2 separate regions of the Homo sapiens genome follow, and region 2 is linked to region 1. Evidence: promoter capture Hi-C in human tissues and cell types (Jung and others, 2019). All regions are on one chromosome and are shown on one strand. The core of a region is centred on a gene start or on the middle of the fragment in contact, and the rest is flanking DNA. Distances in the headings are between cores, read along the strand shown.

Region 1 (3,536 bases), core at 582-3,081:
TCAGGCTTCTAATCACCCAGGTCTGACCCAGATTTTCTCACTCCTCCTCTATCACTTTATTTCTTTATATGATTTGGCAGATATCAAAAGTCCTCCCTTTCCAAATATCTCACTATACTACTTTGTTTTTTACATATGGGCAGAATTTTTCACCATTGCACTCATTTTTCTAAATCAGGCAGGATTTAGATTTCTCTTTCTTTCCTTTCTTTTTTTTTCTTTTTCTTTTTTTTTTTGACAGATTCTTGCTCTAACACCCACACTAGAGAGCAGTGGTATGATCTTGGCTCACTGCAACCTCCCCCTCTCCCGTTCAAGCGATTTGGTGCCTCAGCATCCCAAGTAGCTGGGATTACTTACATGTGTGTACCACCATGCCTGACTAATTTTTGTACTTTTTGTAGAGACTGGGTTTCACCATGCTGACCAGGCTGGTCTCAAACTCCTGGCATCAAGTGATCCACCGGCCTCAGACTTCCAAAATGATGGGGCTACAGGTGTGAACCACCACACCCAGCCATCAGTGGGTTTTTTAATAAAACAAACAGCTAAGGATGAACTGGAAACCACAAACTGAGCTCTTTTTCTATGACCTAGCCTCCCCGGTTAACCTTAGGCAAAGAGTAGTGGTCAGCGGGCCTGCCTATGGGTAAATTCTAAAAGCCTCGCCAGAGACACTTAACTTTTTTTAACCCCTGTGGTTAAAGAGGACGGGTGGGTGCAGAGGGAATTTTATAAACGACACAAACACAAACAATTTTAAGTCCTGAAAAAATTCATTTGGATGTTTGTTTTGCTTCTGTTTTATAGCTTGTTTTAAATCAAAGACTACACCTTCCTGAGACAAGCGTTGATTACACACAAAATGAAGACTGGCCAGGGCCGTGGCTCAAGCCTGTAATCCCAGAATTTTGGGAGGCCCAGGTGGGTGTGTGGGTAGGGTGGGGGATCCTGGGTATCTCGTAAGCCCAGGAGTTCCAGACCAGCCTGGGCAATATAGGAGAGCCCCACCCCTACCATCTCTTAGAAAAATATAAATAAATAAATAAATAAATAAATAAATAAATAAATAAATAAAAGCCGGGCATGGGGGTGCGCGCCTGTAGTCCCGGCTACTTGACGGGCTGAGGTGGGAGCCTGGAAAGTCGAGGCTGCGCCACTGCACTCTATCCTGAGCTACAGAGCGAGACCATATCTAATGTGGGGGGGTGGGGTAAGAGGAAGGGGGAGCGGGGAGAGGGAGAGAGAAAGAGAGCGGGAAAAAAGAAGGAGGAGGAAGAGGAGGAGGAGGACACAGGTGTGACCATTGTCCTCCAGAGCTACAGATTCTGGCATTCTAAAGGAAGAAGGACAAAGAAACCAAAACCAGTTTCTCCAAGGCTTCAGCTTTTCAGTCTGACCATTTGATCTACATTCCATTATTTTGGCAGCATGGTGGGAGTGGATTCGGAATGGACAAAAACCCTTTTCAGAATTAGATCAGCTAATTAAAATGCACACAAACTTCTTTGTTCCTTCACCTCAAGGAGCGTCCTTGGAAAGCAAACATACTTCGGGGCATTTCAGTGGGGGCGCAGTGCGAGGGTGTCCTTTGCGCCTCAGCTCCGGAGAAAAACGAAAGGTGGGTGGGAAACTAGGATAGAGGTGAAAAGTAAGAGGGGACTGAATCAGCGAATGACAAAGGGAGCAGGGCTCCGGACAGGGGTAGGAGGAAGAAGAGGAGTGACTGGGGCTTGTGTCAAGCTTCTTCTGAATGGCTAGACAGCCGCCAGGTGGGAGAGGCGGAGGGTGAAGAGGCGGGTTCCGCACGCGGTTAGCCTGGGGCTGATCTAGTCTTCAGCTTTCACCGGCTGGGAGTCCGGAGCTGCAGCAGAGGCCACACCCAGGGCTTGGTGGTCCCGCGCTTTCCGGAGCTCAGCAGGCGCTTGCTGCTTGAACCGGTCAAAGAAGGAACGAATGAATGACCCTTTTGCCAGGATGGAGACCCGGGGGCCTCAGGGAGCTGCGAATCCCATGGACTCCTCCCGCAGCCTGGGGGACCTCGGGCCTTTTCCGCGGGAGGTAGGGCGCGGGGCTCCGCTAGCTCCGGGCGCCCGGAATCCCGCGACGGCAGGGGCGAGCCGAAGCCAGGGCGGCGGCCACGAGGACAGAACGGCAGATCGGGCCCTCGGACCTCGGGCCGGGGAGGAATTGGACCGTGAGTCCTGGGTCAGAGAGAAAGTGCTCTTTCTCCTGCACCCAGAGAGGTGGTTAGGGACTCGAGGGGACCCTGCACGGGAAGAGGTGGCCGGTGCAGAGGACCTTCCTCATGCGGGTGGAGAGGACCACGGCGAGGAGCCCAACTACCCTTCTGTCTTTCAACGACAAAAGCGAATTTCTGGCAGGCGTGTAGCCCCGCCGCGGGACGCAGCAGACCCACCCAAATACGTGCTTGTGCGGGTGGAGGATTATCAGGTAACACAAGAAGTGTTGCAGACCTCCTGGGCCAAGGGTCGCATGACCACGAGGACTGAGGAGCACTTCGTGACCGCGCTCACTTTTCGCAGCAGTAGAGAGGGACAGCCTGGGGAACGCTGGGGCCCTGCTGAATCCCGGGCTCTCCAGGCACGAACAGGGGCATCCCGCGTCCACGCCGCGGGGAGGAGGGTTTCACCGTCTCCAGGGACTTGGCTCGAGGAAATTAAACTCTAATGAGTAGCTCGAGAAATGTTCCGGGATGGTGGATGAGCGATCATCCTTAAAAGAAAATGCTATTCTGGGAGCTCCAACCTGCAATTAACCTACAGAAGGAACCTTTTGAGAGGCTGGTGCAGCGCTTCGGGGAGGCAGATTAAGAACTGTAAGCAGCATAATACCTCCTTTGTGGCTTGAATTCCTTCGCTGTCTGGGGACCTAAGTCATTCAGAAGAGGTGGAGAAAAGATATTTTCAGATTGGCAGAATGTGGGAGTTTTGAAATGAGAAAACCTGTTGTTAATTTGCATTTTGGAATAACTCTCAATTGATCTCTTTTCTGTTCCCCGCCCCCCTCTTGTTTCTCTTTAGGACCTAGAAACAGAAGTGAAGTTTGAAGTCTGCTCTCTGCAAAGAGGGTGGGAGTGGGTGGAGAAGAGGCTTGTTTTAAAAGCCAAAAACAGAAAGTAAAAAGAAATGGGAAAGTAAAACCAAAGCAGCAAGTGACTCTCTTCTGATGTGCACTTTTCATTTTTCTCCCCCACATTTCAGTGTTAGAAAGAAAACGAGAGGAGCTAGGGAAAGAAGGAGTTGGGGACAGAAGACTAAGATTTCAACGTGAAATTCCATTTACAAAGGCTTTACTGCAAACAATAGCTAATTTAGTCCTGTAAACATGCATTTATCATACATTTTAATTTTAATATTAAAAATACTGCATGTAAATGTTCTGAACTAAAGGTAGATAGCAATATGTAGTTTGCCATAAAATGAATGCATGTCTTATTCTTTTCCATAGTTCTTCATTAATGAGACTTGTAGTCAAGAATAGATTGAAGATACCATTCTCCTTGTGTAGTTCAA
Region 2 (3,536 bases), core at 767-3,266, 1.8 Mb before region 1:
TGTGATTACCTGTGCCAATGTTTTATCAGTTTTAGTGGAGAAACAAGAGCTGACTTATATTGTGGCTACATGATTGCCACCCCTATCTGGTTGGGCATGAAATTTGCATTTCATGACACAAAATGCCATGTATTTGAAAAAAATGGAGACAATAGAGTATAGAAACAATCTGTTATATTTCTTATTAGCGCTAAATGAGATACACTTACACAGGAGTAAAATAATTCATGTTAATATAGCACTTTCTAGTTTGCAAAGCAGGCCCCTTACATTATTTTATTTAACCCATATGCAATATAGTCTTGCATGCACAAGGTCAGTCAAAGACTAGACATAGAAGAATTAGGCCTGACCGACTTTCCAAACCTCACATTGCACTAAGCAGAGGCAGGCCCTGAGTCTATATTGAAGTAATCATTTAGCTTTTGTTGAATATATTTTGATATTTCTTCTCTGCTAACACAAAACCAAGGCAGTAAAGAGTCACTTTCCTGGCCCTCTTCGTTCGAGGTGATGAGTGAGGTGTGAAGGTAATTTCCTGTGGAGGCTGCTGCACTAAATCAGGCCGACCTGTCTTTGGTGGTTGTGTTGAATTCTGAAAATGATCACTAGTGCTTTACAGCTTTTCTTAGATGACTGCACTATTTCCTCCGCTTGGAATTCTCTTTTGGTTAACAGAAACTAGTGCTGAAAAACGGAGCTCATTTTTTGTCTTCCTGAAAATATCTTCACAGAATTACTTTGCAGAACATGATGCAACCTACCTAGATTCTCTGCCTCTCCCGCTGTGGCTGTGTGAGCGCGATTGTTGTGTGAATGACGTTTGAAGATTCCAAACCTGCTCCACAAATTACTAAACACAGTCAAGGACTTTAATCTCAAACCATAGTGTCATGATCACGAGCCACCAAGCCCCTTCCACAAGTTCTTAGGAAGCCAGATAAGACTAGCAACACAAAAGCTGTTAGCAGGAAGGGCGTTTTAAAGACACAAGCCATGTTTTGTGCTTCCTCACCTCCCAGAAGGATTTTCCCTGGATGATCCACTAACACACCCTTTCCGAGATGTTTTCTCAAGGGCCTCCATTGTCTTCAGCATCCTCTCATCTCTTTCCTGTCCCTTTTCCCAGCTGTTGTCACTTCTCCCTCCCAAAGCTCCCAGATGCCTAGAGAAAACCTTCCAATTGTGTTCTCCTGGAGAAAGGCCCAAGCTCTGGAACTTTTTTCCGTTTACTCCACTCTCCCTCAGGCTTCAGTTATCTGCCCAGGTCTCCCAGAAATCAATGGAATAAATCTTTGGAGGTGGAATTTGACATATCGAGGGGAGGTATCTGGGTGTAGGGCAGATTACATCCGGGTAATGCTTTTCTTCCGCCTCCAGGGGTTTGGCTGAAAAGAAAGCACGCCTACATCTGCCTGGCAGCCATCTGGGCCTATGCTTCCTTCTGGACCACCATGCCCTTGGTAGGTCTGGGGGACTACGTACCTGAGCCCTTCGGAACCTCGTGCACCCTGGACTGGTGGCTGGCCCAGGCCTCGGTAGGGGGCCAGGTTTTCATCCTGAACATCCTCTTCTTCTGCCTCTTGCTCCCAACGGCTGTGATCGTGTTCTCCTACGTAAAGATCATTGCCAAGGTTAAGTCCTCTTCCAAAGAAGTAGCTCATTTCGACAGTCGGATCCATAGCAGCCATGTGCTGGAAATGAAACTGACAAAGGTAAGTGCACTAATATTTTACACATGTGTTTTCTGACTACTTACAACTTCATAGGGTACAAAGGATAGGGAACGTTGGAGACTGAGAGAACTTAGAATCTCTATTCTTTACGTAATTCTGAACTTCGTTGATGATTGTCTAAGCCTTTCTTTGTGGTATCTCTCTCCTCTTTCTGTCTCTGTACCCCCACTTCTCTCTTCTCTCTCTCTCTCTCTCACACACACACACACACACACACACACACACACATTTTCAATATCTACAAAATTTGTATAACCCATCAATTTGGGGCTTATCTGCTCTGCTGAATAGGGTACTATTGATTCATATTCATTATTTCAGTAATAAGAATAACTTTTATGAATCATACAATGCCTCACAGTATTTTCTGCGTTGCATGGACTTTGGGACATCATTAGGGACATTCTACCACTTGAATTATTTATAGAGTAAGAGTTTACCATGTGTGCTTTCCCATGGGAAGCTTGTGTTATGAACACGAGCAGTTTCTGCAGGCTTGAGTACCTTGGTAAACGGTAGTTTCAGAGGTGACAGTTCTTTAGGTATTGTGGAGTAAGGAAAAGAACAAGACTAGAGTTTAATCCCATCACCAGTACCTGCCAAGTTTGTGACCTAGAACTAGATATTTAGCTTTCTTGAATCCCTATTTCCTCACTTGCATAACAGGAATAGTGATATCTGTCTTATTGGGTTACGGTGGGAATTCAAAGAGATAAAGTATATTATTCTGTCATCTGGTGCATAGAAGGTGTTAGAGCAACCATGGTTTCTCCTTTTTCCTTATGCCTGTTAGGAATTACTGGTAAAGTCTAAAGCAGTGGTCTTCACATGTTCATGATTTTTTGCCCTTGTACTGAAAAAATATTTTCCAACACATGCCATCAATATAAATGACATACAGGTAATACCATCAAGCTTTGTATTAAATATTAGCACCCCCTAATTTAACCCCCCAAATTTTCTCTTCTATTTTAAAGATAAAAATAAAGGTAGATTGAAGTTATAATTATTTCTTCCTGTATCCCAATCAATCACGTTGATTGGTATCCTACCCTCGAGTATTCTCATGTTCACTTTGGAGACCACTAGTCTCAGGGACCCAGAGAAACACAGTTTCCCCCAGATAAGAGATGGCTTTTTAGTAAGTCAGAGACTTGGTTCTGGTAATATGCCTCTCTCCAAATTGCAGAATTTTTGGAGTTATACAAAGATCTCTTGGTTGCATATTGTATTAGTCTGCTATCACACTGCTAATGAAGATGTACCCAAGATGGGATAATTTATAAAGGAAAGAGATTTAATTGACTCACAATTCCACATGGCTGAGGAGGCCTAGCAATCATGGCAGAAGGCAAATGAAGAGCAAAGTCATGTCTTATATGGTGGCAGGCAAGAGAGCATGTGCAGGGGAACTCCCTTTTATAGAACCATCAGATCTTGTGAGACTTATTCACTATCATGAGAACAGCATGAGAAAGTCCTGCCCCCATGATTCGATTACCTCTCACTGGGTCCCTGCCATGACACATGAGCATTATGGGAGCTACAATTCAAGATGAGATCTGGGTGGGGGGACAGCCAAACCATATCACATACTGTGAGCTAGATTCCTGATGGCTCCAGTTGACTGTTATGCTCAAACTCTACATGCCAAGTAGAGGAAGCTTTGAGGGATATTTTCATCACTCTAAATCTATACTGATAGCTTAATAATAGAACAGTTCTTGGACAAAAATGCAGACTCAGGAAGCATGAACTTCTTCTGTCTTATAATTGGCTATAAAGTAGGAAAATATTTTC

The links. The method cuts DNA at HindIII sites, captures the fragments that hold promoters and counts their contacts. A contact is called where the count stands out against the background at its distance.
Region 2: a contact is called between a fragment that was not itself captured here and the fragment with the promoter of C6orf141 in region 1, in 1 of the 25 tissues and cell types used here (dorsolateral prefrontal cortex).

The regions. Positions count from the first base shown.
Region 1 is chr6:49,548,837-49,552,372 of GRCh38, forward strand. C6orf141 (chromosome 6 open reading frame 141) reads left to right here and starts at 1,832. Exons shown (of 1, transcript NM_001145652.2): 1 at 1,832-3,259. The coding sequence starts at 1,957. The coding sequence ends at 2,691. RefSeq lists a silencer at 1,817-1,876 and enhancers at 2,547-2,616, 2,633-3,152. The HindIII fragment of the contact is 21,386 bases long and covers 1-3,536 here.
Region 2 is chr6:47,793,849-47,797,384 of GRCh38, forward strand. It overlaps OPN5 (opsin 5), which reads left to right. Exons shown (of 7, transcript NM_181744.4): 4 at 1,381-1,715. Among named protein-coding and RNA genes, the nearest start is that of OPN5, 14 kb to the left of the region's middle. The HindIII fragment of the contact is 3,438 bases long and covers 298-3,536 here.